Linked DNA regions of Homo sapiens: all the other regions are linked to region 3. The links are contacts of gene promoters, found by promoter capture Hi-C in human tissues and cell types (Jung and others, 2019). All regions are on one chromosome and are shown on one strand. The core of a region is centred on a gene start or on the middle of the fragment in contact, and the rest is flanking DNA. Distances in the headings are between cores, read along the strand shown. Region 1 overlaps LINC00836 (long intergenic non-protein coding RNA 836). Region 2 has its middle 74 kb from the start of MYO3A. Region 3 holds the start of GAD2 (glutamate decarboxylase 2). Region 4 has its middle 110 kb from the start of LINC00836.

Evidence for each region. Contacts are between HindIII fragments. The study calls those that stand out against the background at their distance.
Region 1: a contact is called between a fragment that was not itself captured here and the fragment with the promoter of GAD2 in region 3, in 2 of the 25 tissues and cell types used here (H1 embryonic stem cells and mesendoderm cells).
Region 2: a fragment that was not itself captured here is called in contact with the fragment with the promoter of GAD2 in region 3 in 1 of the 25 tissues and cell types used here (H1 embryonic stem cells).
Region 4: a contact is called between a fragment that was not itself captured here and the fragment with the promoter of GAD2 in region 3, in 4 of the 25 tissues and cell types used here (H1 embryonic stem cells, dorsolateral prefrontal cortex, heart right ventricle and 1 more).

Annotation. Positions count from the first base shown.
Region 1 is chr10:25,728,071-25,732,807 of GRCh38, reverse strand. It overlaps LINC00836 (long intergenic non-protein coding RNA 836), which reads right to left. Exons shown (of 3, transcript NR_108068.1): 3 at 1-1,187. Among named protein-coding and RNA genes, the nearest start is that of LINC00836, 79 kb to the right of the region's middle. The HindIII fragment of the contact is 3,757 bases long and covers 1,030-4,737 here.
Region 2 is chr10:25,857,698-25,862,996 of GRCh38, reverse strand. No RefSeq gene overlaps it. Among named protein-coding and RNA genes, the nearest start is that of MYO3A, 74 kb to the left of the region's middle. The HindIII fragment of the contact is 4,703 bases long and covers 1,087-5,299 here.
Region 3 is chr10:26,213,404-26,218,365 of GRCh38, reverse strand. It overlaps GAD2 (glutamate decarboxylase 2), which reads right to left and starts at 1,592. Exons shown (of 16, transcript NM_001134366.2): 1 at 1,481-1,592; 2 at 697-756; 3 at 375-524. The coding sequence starts at 1,556. RefSeq lists enhancers at 1-268, 2,878-3,444, 3,445-4,010, 4,011-4,578. The HindIII fragment of the contact is 8,096 bases long and covers 1-4,962 here.
Region 4 is chr10:25,756,980-25,761,631 of GRCh38, reverse strand. No RefSeq gene overlaps it. Among named protein-coding and RNA genes, the nearest start is that of LINC00836, 110 kb to the right of the region's middle. The HindIII fragment of the contact is 4,242 bases long and covers 528-4,652 here.

The DNA of each region.
Region 1 (4,737 bases), core at 1,659-4,158, 490 kb after region 3:
CAAAAAAAAAAAAAAAATCAAAACAACCCATAGAATAGGAGAGAGATTTTGAAAATCAATATATGATAAGGAACTTTTATGCAGAATATATAAAGAACTCCTGCAACTCAACAATAACAGAAGAATAATACCCAGCCCAATTAAAAAATGGACAAAGGACTTGATTAGACATATCTCAAAAGAAGATATACAAATGGTCAACAAGCACGTGAAAAGATGCTCAACATCAGTTATCATTAGGGAAATGCAAATCAAATGCACAATGAAATATTACTTTATACTATTAGTATGGCTATTATATATTTTTAAAAAGAAAAATAAATGTTGGTAAAGATTTTGAGAAACTGAAGCTCTTATGCATTGTGGTGGGAATGTAAAATTATGCAGCTGCTGTGAAAGACAGCTCGACAGTTCCTCAAAAATTAAACATAGAATTGACATATGATCCAGTAATTCCGCTCCTAAGTATATACCCCAAACAATTCAAAGCAGTGCTCAAACAGACATTATACACCATTGTTCATAACATCATCATTTACAATAGCCAAAAGATAGAAACAACCCCCAAATATCCATCAGCTGATGAATGGATAAACAATGTGGTATAGACATACCATGGACTATTATTCATGCTTGAAAAGAAATAAAATTCTGATCCATATTATAACATGGATGAACCTTGAAAACATTACAGTAAGTGAAATAAACTAGGCACAAAGGACCCATATTGTATTATTCCACTCATATTAGGCACTGAGAAGGGGCAAATTCATAGAAACAGAAAGTTCAATAGTGGTTACCAGAGACTGAGGGCAAGGGGGGAATGAAAATTTATTGTTGATAATAGGTACAGAGTTTCTGTGTGAGGTGATGAAAAATTCTGGAACTGGATAATGGTGATGGTTATACAACATTGTTTATTCTTAATGCTTCTGAACTGTGCACTTAAAAATGGTTAAAATGGTAAATATTATATACACTTTAGCACACAAAAAACCTCTTGACTATATTTGTGTGAATTTATTTCTGGAAGATGTATTCTGTTTCATTCATTGATGTGTCTATTCTTACATCAATGCCACGTCTTGATTGCTGTAGCTTTACTTGAAATCAGGAAGTGTGAGTCCTTTCACTTAGTTCTTGAGTCTTGTGCTCCACATGCTTTTTCAGTCATTCATGTCATTTTGCTTGAATAAAATGATAGAAATAGAGTATTTGTTACCTGCAGGTTATTACTGAAAAAGTACACACTACACGTTTCTATTTCCATGGCATTCTACAATAGCCCAAACCAATCTACAGTAGGAAAATATCAGAACAGTGATTGCCCGGACAGTAGGGGCAGGGCTGGACTGGCGATTGCATGGTGTAAATAAAGAGCTGATAACAGAATCTTCCTTACCCCAAATTCTGCAACCTTACTGGAAACAATGGTTCGTATAGCAAATTGAGAAACAGTGATGCAGGAGATGGAAAAAAATTATTTAGGCAGATAGTGAAGATAAAAGAGTCCTCGGCAAGGCTTCCCTGTTAACAAAAAGCAGCCCAAGAAATTATTTTTTTCCAACAAAGAGCAGCCTGAAAAATCAAGCTGCAAACATAGATAAGCAAGCTGGAAGCCTGCACGGGAGAATGCCGGCAGCTGTGCCAATAGAAGAGGGCTACCTGGTGGCCAGGCATATCCAACATGGAGGTTCCATCTTCCCTTTTTTGTTACCACATGTGCAATAAAGAGATGGGCAACATGGCGCTGGCCAGATAGAGAACCCATCTGCATAGTAAAAGATTAGGGTGAGCGCAGACAGCTTTTCATGCCCTCTGCTAATGACACACCCAGCCCTAACCAGTTTTTCTCACCCTATGCAAATGGCATACCTGGTCCAACCAATCTTTTGTGCCCTATCTAAATCAGACATCGCCTCTACAGGCTCATCTATAAAACCCTTTTCACCTTGGAACTGGCAACCCATTTTCTTGGGACCCTTCTCTGCAGCAGAGAGCTCTTCTGTTTTTTTCGCCTATTAAATTTCTACTCTGAAGCTCACTCTTTGTGTGTTCACGTGCTAGTTTTCCGTGGCCTTGAGACAACGAATCTCGGGTATCACCCCAGACAAGGAAGCCGCTTCAGCAGCACCTTAAAAGAAGTTGTAAAAAAACTAGAAGAATGTGGTCTCAAAAAAGTCAAAACAAGCTTTCTTTTTTGTTGCTTGTTTTTGTTGTTGTTTGTTTTGTTTTTCTTTTCTTTTTTTTTTAAAAGAGGTGACTCTTAGTGTCAAAATCTTTGGACACGTTGTGTATGTTCAGGAGCGTGCACTCTCCAGGAGATTTAAGAAGAAGTTGTTGCAAACCTGGGAGAGCCATTAATGAAGTCCTCAGGCTTTAGGAGCATAGCAGGACATCTTAGAGAAACTTAAGTCTGTGATTTCTGAAAGTCTGACAAGAAAGCCTTAAGCAAGGAAAGTAATTTTCAGAAATAATAAAGTGTGGCTGCCTGGAATATTAGTTCTGATTTCTGAACAGGTTTCTTACGTGATAAAAACAACCCAAACTGTCTCCCTTTCTGTGCCTGTACTCCTACATCTTACAAAAAAATCTCTCATAATAATCGGGAATGCTACTTAAGAAGCTCTATGTATAACCACAGCTGATGACAAAGTAAGGTGTCACATGGTTAAAATATTTTAAGTTTACCTTTCTTCTTGATCTGGAAGGTAACAAGGCCATGACTTCCTTTTTAAAAACATTTTATTTTATTTTAAGTTCCAGGACACATGTGCAGGATGTCCAGGTTTGTTTCATAGGTAAATGTGTGTCATGGTGGTTTGCTAAACCTATCAACCCATCCCCTAAGTATTAAGCCCAGCATGCATTAGCTGTTTATCCTGATGCTCTCCATCCTCCCACCTCACCACCAGGCCCTGGTGTGTGTTGTTCCCCTCCCTGTGTCCATGTGTTCTCATTTTTCAGCTCCCGTTTATGAGTGAGAACATGTGGTGTTGGTTTTCTGTTCCTGTGTTAGTTTGCTGAGGATAATGGCTTCCCATTTCATCCATGTCCCTGCAAAGGACATGATCTCATTCCTTTCTATGGCTGCATAGTATTCCGTGGTGTATATGTACCACATGATTTCTTTATTTGCTGTAACTCCTCCTTCCAGAAAGAAGAGCCATTTCCTCCCACCTGAGTAGGATATCTTTCCATGATGAAAAATTATTCTTATTTTCGAACAATTACATATCATCTGGGAGCAAGACGGCAGGATCTTTACTGTTTTAGATGTGACATTCTGAAATAAAACAAAGGGTAGACTACTCTGCTGGTCTCTAAACACCCTCTATGGCACAGCCCTGTTCCTCCACGGCACGGGTTTAATTTTTGGATGCCTCAATCTGTTATTTTTATGAGATTAAAGCCTCAAACTCTAAATGCATCTCTCTCTAGGTAACAATCCTGAATTTATTTACTAGTCTCTAAGAATCCTGCAAATATTTATGGTATGTATCTTTCTGGGTCCCCTTTCCTCATCCACAGCCCAAGGAAGATTGCTAGGAGTCATTAAGAATGTCTGGATGCTGCTTTCAGTCTGTGTTTTGACCTGGTAAAGGCAGGGCAACAATTGATACATAATATTTTTACGTATGTACGGAGTACATGTGATATTTGCTTCATGCATAGAATGTGAAATGATGAGGTCACGGTATTTGGGGTACCCATCACCTTGAGTATTTATCATTCATATGTGTGGGGGGACATTTCAAGTTCTCTCTTCTAGCTACTCTGAAATATACAATACACCGTTGCTAACTACAGCCATCCTACTCTGTTACCAAACATTTGGACTTTCAACCATGGAAAAGCCCTACTTCTCAGTCCAAAGAGATTTTTAAGGTAAAGCTTCGAAATAAAAAAAACAACTAGCCAGGTGCAGTGGCTCATGCCTGTGATTCCAGCACTTTGTGGGGCCAAGATGGGTGGATCCCTTGAGCTCAGGAGTTAGAGACCAGCCTGGGAAACAGAGTGAAGCCCCATCTCTACAAAAAATACAAAAATTAACAGGCATAGCAGCATGCGCTTGTAGTCCCAGCTACTCAGGAGGCTGAGCTGGGAGTATCACTTTAGCCCAGGAGGTTGAGGCTGCAGTGAGCTATGATTGTGCCACTGCACTCCAGCCTGGGCAACAGAGCAAAATTTTGTCTGAAAAACAAAACAAAACCACCACCACAACAATAAGCAACTATCAGTCATTTCATCTGCTCCTTGGTAATCTTAACTCTCTTTTAACTTTATGTTTGCTGTGTTTATAATAGTAATAATCATCAGTGTTATTAGCACTAACATTCATTGACCACATACCATGTCTCAGGTATTGTTTTAAGTACTTTATCCATTTTATATTAAAAAAATGAGGTAGGTAAAATTATTATCCTCTTTTATAGATAAAGAAACTGAGACCTAGAGTTTGTTAGGTAATGTACTTGTTGGGTGATAGAGTACCACCCAGAGGGTGGGGACGCTCAGTCCTGGATTCCCTTTGTCTTAACTACAGCTGGCCCCTGATTTTGCTCTCTTCCCATGTGCAAGTGACTGGGGGAATGATCCTTGCACCCCCGGACAACATCAAGGAGCAAGAGGTCAGGGACCAAGGAAGAAGCAGCCTCCTGTTCTGTAGGCTATGCAAAACTAAGCCAGGTGAAGGCCAGGTGCAGTGGCTCATGCCTGTAATCCCAGCACTTTAGG
Region 2 (5,299 bases), core at 2,189-4,688, 360 kb after region 3:
TATTTATAATGATAATTTTAAGAGACAGTGTCACCATGTTGGCCAGGCTGGTCTCGAACTCCTGACCTCAGGTAATCTGCCCACCTTTGCCTCCCAAAGTGCTGGGATTACAGGCATGAGCCACCACACCTGGCCTCTTTGATTATTTTTTTAAATTTTTGTTCTTTTCTCTCTTTTTGAAATACCTATTAGAGAGATGTTGAACTTTCTGGATTGAGTGTCTTTGCCTCTTCTTCCCCTCTTACATTATCCATTCTTTGTCTTTTTAGGATATTTTCTTAACTTTGTATCCTTTTTATTTGAAAACATATAATGTGATCTTCTCAAAAACTTCTGAGGGTTATCAAATAGAGATTTAAAAAGTTCAAATGCTTCTATCTCTTTCCTCACTGACCATTTTTTCTCTCATTCTGCAGTTTCTTTAAAATTGGTCTTTTCCTTTATGTTGAAAAGTCTCAACAAGTATCTGGTGATATTAAAGAACAAGGCATTGAAAAGCTGAATGAGAATTCTGCATGTTGGTGATGGTGAAGCCTTCTGTGGACTGACGTGTATCATTTCTAATGGCTGCTTACCTGAGTTAGGGACCCAGGTGACCTCTGACCTCCTGCATGGAGGCAGACACTTAGTCGCCTGTGTCCTCCTCACACGGACAGTTGGGGAATAAAGTCTTCTACCCACACATTTGCTGTTCCCCTGTTTCCAGCCCCATGTTTGACTCTTCTCCATTAGTCTCCTGGGATCAGACTCCCAGTCTACTTCCGTAACCTCTTCAGGGAGGGGCAGGTGCCTTGTCTTCATTGTTTGGCTTTATTGTTTCCCATGTCCCCTGGAAGGCATCCCTTGTCCTGTAATTTCTTCTGCCCTGCTACATCAGTTTTACTTTCTTCATCAATTTTCTTCTGCCAGTAATATTTTAAATCTATGGCCTATTGATAATCTCTTACCTATTCTCATCATCATTGTGAGTTTGTACATTTAAAATATCTGCACTAACTTTTTAATTGATCCTGGCAGGAAGAAGAGGTATACAATAGGCATCTTTAGCCCAAAGTCTTATAATTTATTTTCATTGTATCCCTGGGTACAGTGGAGGTGAACTTTTTCAAAGTTGACCTGTCAGAAAATGTCTGTATTTGGCCCTCTCACTTGGTTACAAGTGACTCATAGTCACTTTCACTTAGAAGACTGAAGCCATTCTCCATCATCCTCCAGCCCCATTCTTGGTAATGAGAATCATGAAGTCAGATGATGCTTGTTTCTGGCTGAGATTTCTTTATTTTATCCTGGAACTTTTAGCAATCTCTTATCCAGGATGATTCTGGGTATAGGTATTAAAAAAAAAAACAAAACTCTACTCAGCATTTGGTGAGACTTTTCAACCTGAAAATGTGTGTCTTTCTTCAAATCTAAAAATTTTTTACTATATATTTATTTTCTTTCATCCAGTTTTTAATGTTTTCTCTGAAATTTAATAAATCTACATAAAAAATTTAAGTAAAAAAATTTTAAAAATCAGTAGAATCTAGATGAAAGAAATAACTAATAGGCAAATTTATTTGGAAAAAAAAATTCCAATGGCAATAACCTATAAAATGCTTAGAAACAAACCTAACAAGAAATGAGTAGAATTATGTGAAGAAAAATATGATTTTAGGAATAATATTTTAAAGACCACTTGACTATGTCCTTAAATGGGAAGACTCATTATTGTAAAGATATTTACACTAATTTAACAATAAATGTAATACATTCCTTAAGTTTTTTCTTCTTTTGCATATTATCAGTCATCTGAAATTGTATTTACATAAGGACAGCCAAGTATAACAAAGACTATCTTGATATAACAGCTAGAAACTCTTTATAAAGCTCTAGTGTAGTAAAAATATATAAAAAGTTCCATAGAATAGAATCATGAGTCAAAAAATAGACTGAAACATACCTGTGATATAGTTCAATTTATCTATTTTTACTTTGTTGTCTGTGCTTTTGCATCATATCCAAAAAGTCTTTTCAGGCTGCTCTGTCTATAGAGTGGCCATTCTTTATTCCTTTACTTAATAAACTTGCTTTCACTTAGAAAAAAAAAAAGTCATTGCAAACCCAACTTTAAAAAAAAGTCATTGCAAACCCAACTTCATAAACTTTTATCCTGTGTTTTCTTCTAAGAGTTTATAGTTTTAGCTCTTGTATATGCTTTTGACTTATTTTGAGTAAATTTTTGTATATGGTGTAAGGTAAGGGTCCAATTTCATTCTCTTGCATGTGAATATCTGGTTTTCCCAGCACTATTTGTTTAAAACACTCCCCTTTCCCCCCATTTAATAGTATTGGTACCCTGGTCAAAAATTATTTGATCATATATGTGAAGGTTGGCTTCTGAGCTCTTTATTCTATTCTTTTGGTCTAAATGTCTTCCTTTACACTAGTATGACACTGCTTTGATTGCTGTAGCATTGTAATAAGTTTTGAAACCAGGAGATTGAGATCTCACACAACATTTTTTTCAAGGATATTTTGGCTATTTAGGATCTTCTGAGATTCCATATAAACTTTAAAATGGATTTTTTCATTTCTGCAAAAAATGCGATTAGTATTGTGATGGTGATTACATTAAATTGGTAGATTACTCTGGGTAGTATTGACAGCTTAATATTAAGCCTACAGCCCATAAGCACATAATATCTTCCCATTTATTTGTGTCTTCTTTAATTTCTTTCAGTAATGTTTGGTCTCAAACTCCCGAACTCAAGCGATTCTCTTGCTGTGGCCTCCCAAAGTACTGGGATTACAGGTATAGACCACCATGCTTGGCCTCAGCAATGTTTAGTAGTTTTCAGTGTACAAGACTTTTCTTCTCCTTGGTTAAGTTTATTCCTAGTATTTCATTATTTCTAACGCTATTGTAAATTGAATTATTTTCTTAATTTCCTTTTCAAATTTTTTCACTGTTAATGTACAGAAATGTAACCAATTTTTGCAAGTAGAGTTTGTATACTCTACTGACGTTATTTATTCTTTCAAACAGTTTCTTTTTTGGTGGAATTTTTATGGTTTCCTACATGTGAGATCATGTCAGCTTTGAACGGAGATAATTTTACTTCTTTATTTTCAATTTTTATTACTTTTATGTCCTTTTCTTGTCTAATTGCTCTGGCTAGGACTTCCAGTATCATATTAAATAGAAGTGGCAGGTAGACATCCTTGTTTTACACCTAATCTTAAAGGAAAAGCCTTGTCTTTGGCTGTTGTATATGATGTTAGATGTGGGCTTTTCATAGCTGGCCCTCTATAGCTAATTTGTTTAGTGTTTTTGTCATAGAAGAGTGTTGAATTTCATCAAATGCTTTTCTGTATCTATTGAAATAATCATGTGATTTTTATCCTTTCTTTTTTTAAAGTGCTGTATTATACTGATTGCTTTTCATATATTGAACTTGTATTTCAAGAATAAATCCCACTTGGTCATGGTGTATAACACTTTCAATATGCTGTTGATTTTGGTTTGGTAGTATTTTGTTGAGGATTTCTGTGTCAATATTTATAAAGAATATTGGTCTGTAGTTTTCTTTTCTTGCAGTGCCTTTCTCTAGCTTTGGTATCAGGGTAATGCTGGTTTCATAGAATACAATTGGAAATGTTTCCTCCTTTTTCATTTTTTTGGAAGAGATTGAAGAGGATTGTTGTTAATTCTTTATATTTTCCATAGACTTCACCAATGAAGCCATCTGGTCCTGAGCTTTTCTTTGTTGGGAGGTTTTTGATTGCTGATTCAATCTCCTAGCTAATTATACATCTGCTCAGATTTTCTGTTTGTTTATGATTCAGTCTTGGTTGGTTGTGTGTTTCTAGGAATAGCCATTTCATTTAGGTTATCCCTGTGCAACAATTTTCAACCTTACAATATTAAAACACCAAATACATTTACAATGGAATAGCAATTTTTTTTTAAATAGAGGGGTAAAGTTAAGATGTTTGGTAACATCCATTCTGGCAAGAAACTAAGAAAATAGGAAATATTTTGCACAATTGCTAGGGTGTTAGTACAATAACAGAGTATTTTGTCTATGGAATATGAAATGCTCACAATCACGGATTCACCCATTAGAACGAGCACATACCCTACAAGATATACTAAGAGAAGTGTGCATTGTTAAATGTACAAGAAAGAAAGTTGCAGCATGGTATGTAAAAGGTAAAAATTAGAAAACACCTAACATGCCATTGTCAAGAAAAAAGCTTCAATTCTGCATTGTTTTAAAAATGCTTATGTTACAGTTCTTGTTTATTTTTAATTGAATTATAATAGGAAGTTTTGAACTTATAGCTCCTATTTCATATACAAAATCGCCTCCAGTTGATATCTGTATAATATTTTGTCCTATATGTATTAGATCATCAATTCATTTATTCATATTCCCTTCCACAAACACTTATTGAGCATCTTCTAGAGGCCAAGTACTGTGTATATTAGATATAGAATAGTGTGTGAAACGAAGCCCTAGATAGCATTGATCTCTTCACTTACTTAAGTCTTCCTTAACGTCTTGAAATACAATTTTATCATTTCTTTTGTTTATTTGCTTTTTGTTTTCCTTATTTCATTTTCTTTTCTTCACACTGGTTTGAAAGAGCTATATTCTTTGAGTGACTACCCTTGGAATTTTAGCCTTCGTATTTACCAAAGACTCATGTATTCAGTATCTCTTCTCATATAACGTAAGTGCTCTTGGAATGTTATAACTTCAACCATATTCCTCCCAGTTAATATTTGTGGTTGTTCTGTATCTTATCTCTATCTTGTTTTAATTATCTGTAACCTCACAGATTAAGTTATTATTGTTGTTTTATCATTCCAGTGTTTGTTTAGATTTATCTACATACACACCTCAAAATATATCCTATTTAAATTATTTGGGGTATATGTAGTTTGGAAACTCTGTTTCCATTTATCTTTTTTTTTTTTTTTTTTTCTGAGACAGAGTCACACTCTGTCTCCCAGGCTGAAGTGCAGAGGCACGATCTCAACTCACTGCAACCTCCACCTCCCTGGTTCAAGCAATTCCTCTGCCTCAGCCTCCCAAGTAGCTGGGATTACAGACACATGCCACCATACCTGACTAATTTTTCTGCATTTTTAGTAGAGACCAGGTTTCACCATGTTGGTCAGGCTGGTCTCGAACTCCTGACCTCGTAATCCACCCACCTTGGCCTCCCAAAGTGCTGGGATTACAGGCATGACCCACCGCAGCCGGCCTGTTTCTATTTATCTTAAAAATATTTTTATTTTAACTTTGTT
Region 3 (4,962 bases), core at 343-2,842:
TCTGAATTCTCGGGCACGGTATTTGGAAACTGAGTCCCACCCGAGGCCCCAGCGGCCTAGGGAAGCCAGCCGTCATCGATTCAGTGAGCGCACGAGCGCCTGGATCGTCGGCCACCCGCCATCCCAAGGGCCGCGCTGGGGGAAGAGCGCCACGGCCTCAGAGCCCTCTTGGAGCTCCGAGGCCAGGTTCGGGGGCTTGGACCCAGCGGGCAGGTCCCGCATTTCTCGCTTTTATCTGAAGATTCTGGCAGGTCCCGCCTCCGCTGCCACCTCGACGCCCCTGTCCGGCTCTCAGCGCCGGACCCGCACCGGCCGCGGTGGGCGGGGCAGAGAGAGGGGCAGGGGCGCCCCGGGGCTCCCCGCTGAGTCTTTACCTGTTGCATGGAGAAACGCGTAGTTGACATCCACTTTGGAGCAGCTGCAGGGCTTCTGGTCGCAGGCGCAGGCGGCCTTCCGGGCGGCGGCCCGCGGGGGTTGGCTCCCGCCGCTCTCCGCCGGCTTCTCGGCGTCTCCGTAGAGCAGGGCTGGGTAAGGACACCGAACGCGGGCCTCGTCAATCCTCCGCCGGGCCCGGCTCCCTCGCTCCCGCCTACCCGCAGCCAGGAAACCCCGACTCCGCTGACTGGGATGCGGAGGTGAGAAGACTGCTTGGACCCCGCGGGCCGACCTTGGCCGCCCCGGTCCCTGGGCACTCACCGCACAGTTTGTTTCCGATGCCGCCCGTGAACTTCTGAGCCACTTGGCACCAGGCTCGCGCTGCAAGGAAGAATAGGCAGGCAGACAGCGAGGCAGAAAGAGAACAACAGACGGACGTGTGAAATTTCGTTCTATGTGAAAATCAATCAGTCCGGGGTCCTAGGAGGGGCCGCCTTCCTCCTGGGGGCCGCTCAGGACTCGGTGAGGCCGGCAGGTGCAGAAGGCAAGCGGGAGGCTGGCGGCCCGGGCCAGCCCTCATTTCCTTTATCTGTTTCCCGAGGAGAAGCCCACACCGCTGCCCTTCCAGGTGCCAATCGGCTCAGGCAAATTCCTCTCCCTGCCTACCTTGGACGAGTTTTCCTAAACACTGAAGCTATCCATTTTTTCGCAGACTGTCTTTCTAGATAAAGAAATCTCTCACCTTTCCCATTTTTTTTTTCTATCTTCACGGTCACTCCGTCCCACCCCAGGGTCCAGACACCCGGATCTTAGCAGCGCCCCAGGACCACGGAATTCCATGTCCCCGAGACACCGCGGTCTTTGGGGGGCTCTTCCAACCTTCTGTGGAACGGGCCTGAGACTATTTGGGCGTCTTCCCAGGGTACAAGAGGCTGTAGAGGTCTTGAGCTCTTGGGCCGTCAAGGACTTAGCCCAAAAGCAGGGAGAAGCGCCCGAAGAAGTTTCCTGTTGCAGGTGGAAAAACCTCCTTCGTCTTCTCCGTAGTTCCGCAAACCCCAGACCACCGCAAAACTCGCCCGCCGCAGGCCCCCGTTCTCCTTCCTACCTGTGCCGGGATTCTCGGAATCCCCAGAGCCATCTTCCGACCCGAAAGACCAAAAGCCAGAGCCCGGAGATGCCATCGGCTTTGGAGACTGGAGCAGGTCGCCTGCGAGTGCGAGCTGCGGGCGAGCTGCCTCGGGCTTGGCCCTGCGCGCGCGTGCGTGCCCGTGTGGCGGGAGGAGGGCACCGCGCGGGGACCGGCGGGGCCGAGCGGCGAGGGCGGGTGTCACGCAGGAACAGAAAACGTGCGTGTCTGTGCGTGTGTGTATGCGAGCTGGAGACAGGGTTTAGGGACGTGGCAACCCTTTGGAAGCCGGGGAGCTTTAAAAGAGACCGGGACTACCTAAGGGTCCTCGGAGCCCGGACTCAGGAAAGCGCGGAGAGCCCCAGAGCATTTGAGGGAAAGGGAGCCCAGTGGGGATGAATGAGGGGGCGGCGGAGGAAAAAAACACGAGAGAGGGAGGGAGCTGAGTCGTGAGGATGCGAGGCAGACCATGCACGCCAGCTGGAGTCAGAGTGAGGGGGTGGGAGGCGTGCCAGCGCGTCCTCGGGCGAGCCAGAGGCGGGAAGTGCGGGCGGCCGCTGTCCCGGGTGCTGCCACAGCCGCTGCGCGCCAGCGTCAGCGAGGGGCAGACTGGGGAGACCTCGGCGAGGCGGGAAGCGTGGCCCAGAGGAGTTTTCTGTGTGCATCGATTGGGGTTTTGTTTGAGGTCTGGCTCCAGCTGAGGGGAAGGAAGCGGGGTTCCCGCGCCGTTTTCCTCCAAGCAGGTGCTGAGGTCACTGCGACCTCGAGAGCTCGCGCCCCGGGCGGGCATCAGGCGCCGTTCACGAGCCTGGGGAGGGGACGGCGGGGGAAGGGCTCCTACCCGCTGATGGGCTCATTTCAGCGCCTTGGTAGAACCTGACGCCTGCCTGCTGAACCGCGCCGTACCCGGGGGCGCACCGTTCCTGCGTAGCCAAGGGCTAGATCGCGGGACCCACCGTCCAGGCTCTGAGTGACGGCTGGGGAGAATGACTGCTGATTGAGGCAATTAAAATCCACGCTGGAGTCTACTGAGGACCTCGGGCTGGGGAAAAAAAAATAAAACGAATGGAAACTTCTTGGAAGAGAATGAGGCAGAGCGGCCAGAGTCGGCAGGATTGATGGCGGGTGGGGGATGGAATCAGGGCATTTGGTGACCTTGGCCCGCGGAGGCGTGGAAGCGCCCGCTGCTTGCGTGTAAGGGGGATCTGTGTGCGCCTGGGAGGGGAGAACAGGGTTTCCAACTAAGCAATCTCGGCTTTACAAATCCGAGTAGGAAAGAAGGCATCGCCTGCAGGGCCCTCGTTTTAAGGGGCTTCAAACCAATGCCCCCCCTCGCCCCCAGAGAATCTTCGCGGTAGCGGGTGACCCGGAAGCGCGAGATTGGTTCTCTCTGAGGCGTATTAGGAGGCGGTTTCTCTTTTTCTAATAAAGAAAGGAGGAGAAAGTCAGAATCGTTCTGATGATTTCCTTTCTACAAAAAGCTATTGCAGACAGGGAGGACGCCCTAAGGATTGGGAGCCCTTTGACAGTTTGCGCTGCGTTCTCCTGGCAGTGGAGATGAACTTCAAGTGCACCTCGGAGCTCCGGGGCTCTGGGGGAGACGGAGGGAGGGAGAGAGAGGAAAGGGCTGAGGTCGGCTTCCCGAGGCGGCTGCCTTCCCCGCGCCTGGCCAGAGCGCCTGTCATTTCCATTGTGTTCACAAGTCGTTTTATTTCTCTGACCTCCTGAACCAGCCACCAAAGCTGCTAACAAAGCAGAGACCCGGGGATCCCGTCTGGGCGAGCACCCCTCGACCCTCGCTTAGAAGGGACATCCTGGGGCCCATGCTGGACGCATACAGGCCCAAGTCCTGTGTGCTCGAGCATAACTGTCCCTGGTCAATTCTCTCCACAAAGCGCTGTCTTCTTCTCGCGTGCCTGAGTCCAGGGGTTCCCTGAGGAGTCATGGGATCCACACTATGGCAACTGGGCCCAGGCGCCAGGATGAGAGCAGGAAACCAGTCGGGCGTTGATAGCGTCCTGCCGAAGGCTGGCACTGAGCGTGCTAGGTGAAGTCTGTTCCAGGCTGTGGGAGCCCGGGTGGTCGAAAACTCAGGGCTCAGTTTGGCTCCTCTTTCTTGCTCTCCTGGCTCTGACACTCTAGGTCACCACAATAACAACTCCGGAAACCTAAAGACTTGTGGTTCAGCCATCTGCACTTCAGGCATGGCAGCTCCGCAGCTCTCTCCAGCCTCGCAGAGGCTGGTTCTTTGTTGAAATCCATATCAAATCCTGCAAAGGTTTTCCTTCAAGCCAGCAGTCTAGGGTTGCAGAACTTTTCTACTATGGATGAGTGGTTGAAAACATAAAGGTTCTTAAAAGCAAGCGTTTAAATCACACAAAACCCCCAAAGAAGAAACGGATTAAAACACCTGAATTTAACTGATTTTTTTTTCTTTTTGGTAAAGCAATGGCTTCAAGTGCTACCGTTTAAACTCCATTAAATCCCACAGCTCTGGAGTACTTTGGATCTAATGGTGATATTTACATTTTTTATTTAAACACACCCTACTTCAGATGCAGATGGAGATCTGATTTGTCTTTCCTGAAGGCTGTCCCTCCCTAGACGGTAATTTGCTTTGTAATGACTTTCATTTCACTAAAGAGCCCATTCCCCCTCTCCGGGGCTTGGGGTTGGAGATAACAAAAGAGCTCTGGGAGGTAATAATTACAGTCATTAGTTCACAAAGGAGGCAGCCAGTGAATGGGAAGGGAAGGCGGCCGCTTTGGAAGGCCCTTCCTCAGATGAGGGGCGAGAGACCCAATCCTCCGACTTGTAGGGACAGTTTCCTTAGGTGTCTGGTTTACCAACATATGGGTCTCAGGCTGACCCAAAGAAGAGTGTCTGGCACACATTTTCCTGTGTCCTTCCCGTGCTTAAATGTCAAAGGACAGAGAAAGAAGGGAAGATGGAAAGAAAAAGAGGAAACAACCACGGAAGAACACAAAAATATTGCAACCAAGCATTCACCAAGCCTTTGCCATTCTCTTTTCTATTCTCACTTAAAACATTGGTGCAGGAAAAATTTAGGGAGGGAGTCTGTTGCCTCCCTCCATAAATTCTCCCTACACCAACAGAAATAACAGAAGGGGCTGAGTGCCAGGGCTCTTGTCTTCAGGGGCCACCCAAGAAGGACGCCTAGATTGAAGGGTGGCCAGGCAGAAAAGCTGAGCTTAGCTTACTGCTCCTTACCCCTGGCCCCTGCTCCGCCCTCCCCACAAACCCAGGCCTTCTGGAGGCAAGTGGACAGGCAGCTAGAGGTGGAAGGGGGCCAGGCCACTTTGGGCTTTAGACACCCCTGCCCCTCCCAAGCCCCTCTCTCTGGTGACCTGCTGTGCTGGTTTCCTGGGTACTGGGCCATACTCAGCTCCTCAGTGCATTCGCACAGCTGAGGGTTACTCCTTACTTTCAGTCGCAACCCC
Region 4 (4,652 bases), core at 1,399-3,898, 460 kb after region 3:
TCGAAGAACCCTCTCTTGGAGTCTGTATAGGGACCACTTTCCTGTAACAATCACATTGGGAGTTAGGACTTCAGCATAGGGATTTGGAGGGTGCATAAACACCCATTGGCTGACTGGCTGAGCAAACATGTAAATAAATTTGCTGCTCAAACATTGCGTCTCTACCCTCAAGTCTTTCTCACTATCCCTTTTGCTGTTCTTCTCTTTGCCTCTTGAATTTCAACACTGTAGCCCGGTCTGATTAGCTAAAGCTGCAGATTCAAACCCTTGAGGCATCTGTTGGTTTTTAGAGTCCAGCCTCCATCTGTAATTTCAGCCAGCACTTTCTCGATTGTTTTCACACAAAGGGTATCAGCGATACCTGTATGTCAAAACAATAATAATTATCAGGTGAGTGTAGTTAGTTGCCTCCTTTCTCTTATATCTTCATTAATTTCATAAGTTAAATCTTTTCCCATAAAAAAAATGCAGCTTGCTATCAGCATTCATTTAATTTTACGTAAACGCCCTCTTTGAGGCTGAAGCAAATCTGACTCATTTTCAATGTGAAAATGAAATATAAAAACTGTTCTTGGAGTTATTTCTAAACAGAACTAACATCAGAATCATCTGAATCATTAGAATCATCTATTTTGGAAAAATCGGATTCATCAAATGAATCTTCAGCCAACTGTTAGAGAATGATGTTAACATCATGTGTAGGAATGCTACATTTTCTAGGATTTGACATTTTCAGTGGTTGAGAATTACTGTGTTTTGTAAATGGAAATACTACTACTAAAAACAGAATGCTATAAATAGAATGATGTCTTTTGCTTCTCAAGTCGATATACCAGAGTGATGCAAAAATAATAATAAAAGTGAGATATTTTGTGGCAAAGTTATCTTGGGGTAAACACTGCAGCTGAAAGCCCGCCGGCAAGTATTCCCAGAGCAAACAGGAAAAGGGTTAATTTAGTTTAATAACTGATTCTCCCCCTATATTCCTACCAAGTTCAAAATCTGTCTTACAATCAGGCCTATTGCTGATTGCACTTACCAACCCTACAAGCCGAACCTAGCAGTCTCTCATATAGCTAAGCAATGACAAGAGCGTCAGGCAGCAGAAGTGAGGACAGATCACTGCTGAGTCTTCATGTTGAGAGCAGTGGGGCAGTTGTTAGCTGGAGCTGGCTTGCACTGATTAGTGAGAGCAGATTGTGTATATTTCTTCTCTGTGCTGAGTTCAGTATGCACTGATACATTGGTAGGATGAAATTTACCATGGTGAAAGTATTTACACCATGGAAATTGGCAAATGCTATTTATCAGGCCTTTTTTTCCTCTCCTAGATCTATTATTAAATATTTTCCAGCATACTACTAGATATGCAGAAGCACAAACTACCCAACAGGCTTTTTGTGATTTGGCCTTAAATGTTAAATCCCCAGAATATAAATAGAGAGATCTTGTTGGTTGGAAGTAGGTGGAAAAGTATGAAAGGTAATGCAAGGTCGAATTCAGATGCACTCATATGTGAATGCCCATTATTAGCCTGTCCTCAATCAATTCCCAAGGCCAAGCCTTGGGAAATTGAGCATTAGTGAAAGGAAAATGTCTGCTTTGGTCAACTGAGAATAATCTCAAAGACTAAACAATTTAAAAGTTAGCTGCCTTATGAAAGCTTTCATAATGGTGAGATTTATATCTGGACAGATGACAGCAGGAGAGATATTAAAGTCAATAAATAAATGTTTATTAAAGATTTCTACTAGAGACTTCGAAAATACAAGGACATACAAGCTATAATGCCTTATCTCAACAATCTCACATGCAGGGGTATATTAGTCTGTTCTCATGCTGCTAATAAAGACATACCTGAGACTGGGTAATTTATAAAGGAATGAGTTTTAATTGACTCAGAGTTCCACATGGCTGGGGAGGCCTCACAATCATGGCGGAAAGCAAAGGAGGAGCAAAGGCACATCTTTACATGGTGGCAGGCAAAAGAACGTGTGTAGAGGAACTCTCCTTTATAAAAACATCAGATCTTGTGAGACTTATTCACTATCACGAGACTCTCCCCCATTATTCAATTACCTCCCACCAGGTCCCTCCCTCAACATGGGCATTATGGGATCTACAATTCAAGATGAGATTTGGGTAGACACAGCCAAACCATATAAAAGGGTAATAATATTATGTGGTGGAAACACATCGGTTGGGAGTCAACAAGTTCCTTTATTGGCTTTGCACTAACTGGCTGGTTGGTCATGTCCTTTACTGTCTGTGGACTTCACTTTCCTCTTCCATAAAGTAGAGATTTATGTTCTTTGAGATTACACTCTGAGATGTTATTTTGTTTAGCTATGAAAAGAATAAGAGATTCCAGGCCCAAAAGAAATCAGTGTGATTGCAATTATTTGCAGATGTGTGTATGTCTGTATGTTCATTTCTCCTAGACTGAACTTTTTAAAAACATAGATAATGTGTTATTCATCCTTATATTCCCAGTACTGGACACATATTGGATGTTCAGTGAATGTTGAATGAACAAATAAAGAATAAATACCTCTGTAACTAATCAGGGAATAGGTATAACACAAATTAGGTTGTGGACCTGTGAAGAAACTGGTGTATCCTATTGTACTTTTCCATTTGGTTTTCATAGGAACCCTGTTGGTACAAAAATATATGCAATTTCTTCAGATTCTGGTGAGAGGTAGAGACAGGGCCAAGTTGCTAAAAAAAAAAAAAAAAAAGTGTCTTCTATGAGTTTTTTTTGTACCATTACAAAAATTTTTTTTGGAAACAACCAAGTGTACTTTGTTTTATCAGATAATTGGCACACTAGTTTTATTATAACTGGTAAGAATCTTGCAGTACCTAGAGGCAAAGATTCTGAACATTGATAGATTATCTAAGCATATATTTGTAGTGATGTAATTGTGGCTATAGGAGACTGGATAACATCTGTGCAGGGCATAGGACGTTTTAAAAAGTTGCTTAACCAAATGAACCTCTGCTATCAACTTGCTGTGCTACTACATTTACCTTTCTTCTCTTTAGTGTTGTAGGGCAAAAAATCTGGCTAATGGAAAATTTTAATTCACTGTTTTGTTTAACTGACTTAATGGACTGCAATTACTGATGTAGTATTTAAACAACCAGAGCAGTAGCTGTGCTTTTTCACATCATAAATGCATGCTAAATTTATCTTCCTTTATAATGTAGCTTGTAGGTTTGCTCCATTTTGCTGTGTGAGTAAATGGTTAAACATCTTACAGTTTGTATTGCCCCCCAGGGTTAGAGAGAAAACAAGTCATTTATCCTCAAGAGCTCCCCTGAGATCTGCAGAAGGGTGTGCTGCTTTTAAATAGATTTCTGTAGCAAAGTGCACAGTCATTTTAAAGCTACTGATGTATTTGGAGACATTCATTTCCTATCTGTCAGCCCCTACCTTTGGATTTCATATTTCCTTCTAGTTCACAACAGGGGAAGTGCAGACTGACTCAATGCTGCCCCCAAGTGTTATCTCAAAACATAGGCTCAGGACAAAAGCAAGACAAAGAGCCACTAATCACAAGAAAAGAAATTCATTATCAAAATCTACAGTTTATTTTGAATTGTGCTTCTGGTTGCTATTTAAAGAGAACACATTATGAAATGAAATCAACTCAACAAATATTTTTGGAAAACCTGTGCTATGTGTAAGAGGATACAAAGGAACAAAACACGATCCAAGCTTTAAAGGCTTTCAAACAAGTCAGAGAGACAAGAGTGGCTGAAAGGCTAAATAAAAAACAACTAATAGATGTCACAAGAATGAATTAGACGAACTGTTAAAATAATGGTAATCTAACTTGTATAGCTGACATTTAAAAAATATAACCTAATACACATTTTTAAGGCATGTGCTAAATCCTTTGTATTCGTTATCTCATTCAATCTGCACAATAACCCTATGAAGAAAGAAACAGTGTAATGTCTCCTTTTTTCTTGAATGAAACAGAGGCTTTCAGTCTGGTGCAAAAGTAATTGCAGTTCTTGCCATTAAAAGTAATGGCACCAACCTAATAGCTAAGAGCTAGGTCACCTACCTATGACATGACAGAGCTGGGACTCACCTCAAGTCTTCCTGGCCAGAAAGCCTGTGCTCTTACCTGAAATGCTTTGTAACCACAAGATGCTAGAGAAGACAACCATCATGAGAGTAGAAGTGATCCCATGGGGTTTTCCAAGGATGTGTGGTTTGAGGATGTTCACACTTAAAAAAAGAAAGTTTTTAAGTTTTGTTTTGTTTTGTTTTTGAGAAAGAGTCTTGCTGTGTCACCCAGGCTGGAGTGCAGTGGCTCGATATTGGCTCACTGCAACTTCTGCCTCCCAGGCTCAAGCAATTCTCCTACCTCAGCCTCCCGAGTAACTGGGATTACAGGTGCCTGTCACCACGCCCGGCTAATTTTGTATTTTTAGTAGAGACGGGACGGGGTTTTACCATGTGGGCCAGGCTGGTCTCGAACTACCGACCTGAAGTGATCAGCCCGCCTCGGACTCCGAAAGTACTGGGATTATAGGTGTGAGCCACCGCACCCGGCTGGAAAGCTTTCAAAGTGAAGCAATCAGCATTGCTTGTGTATCCGGAATTGGTGGGTTCTTGGTCTCAGACTTCAAGA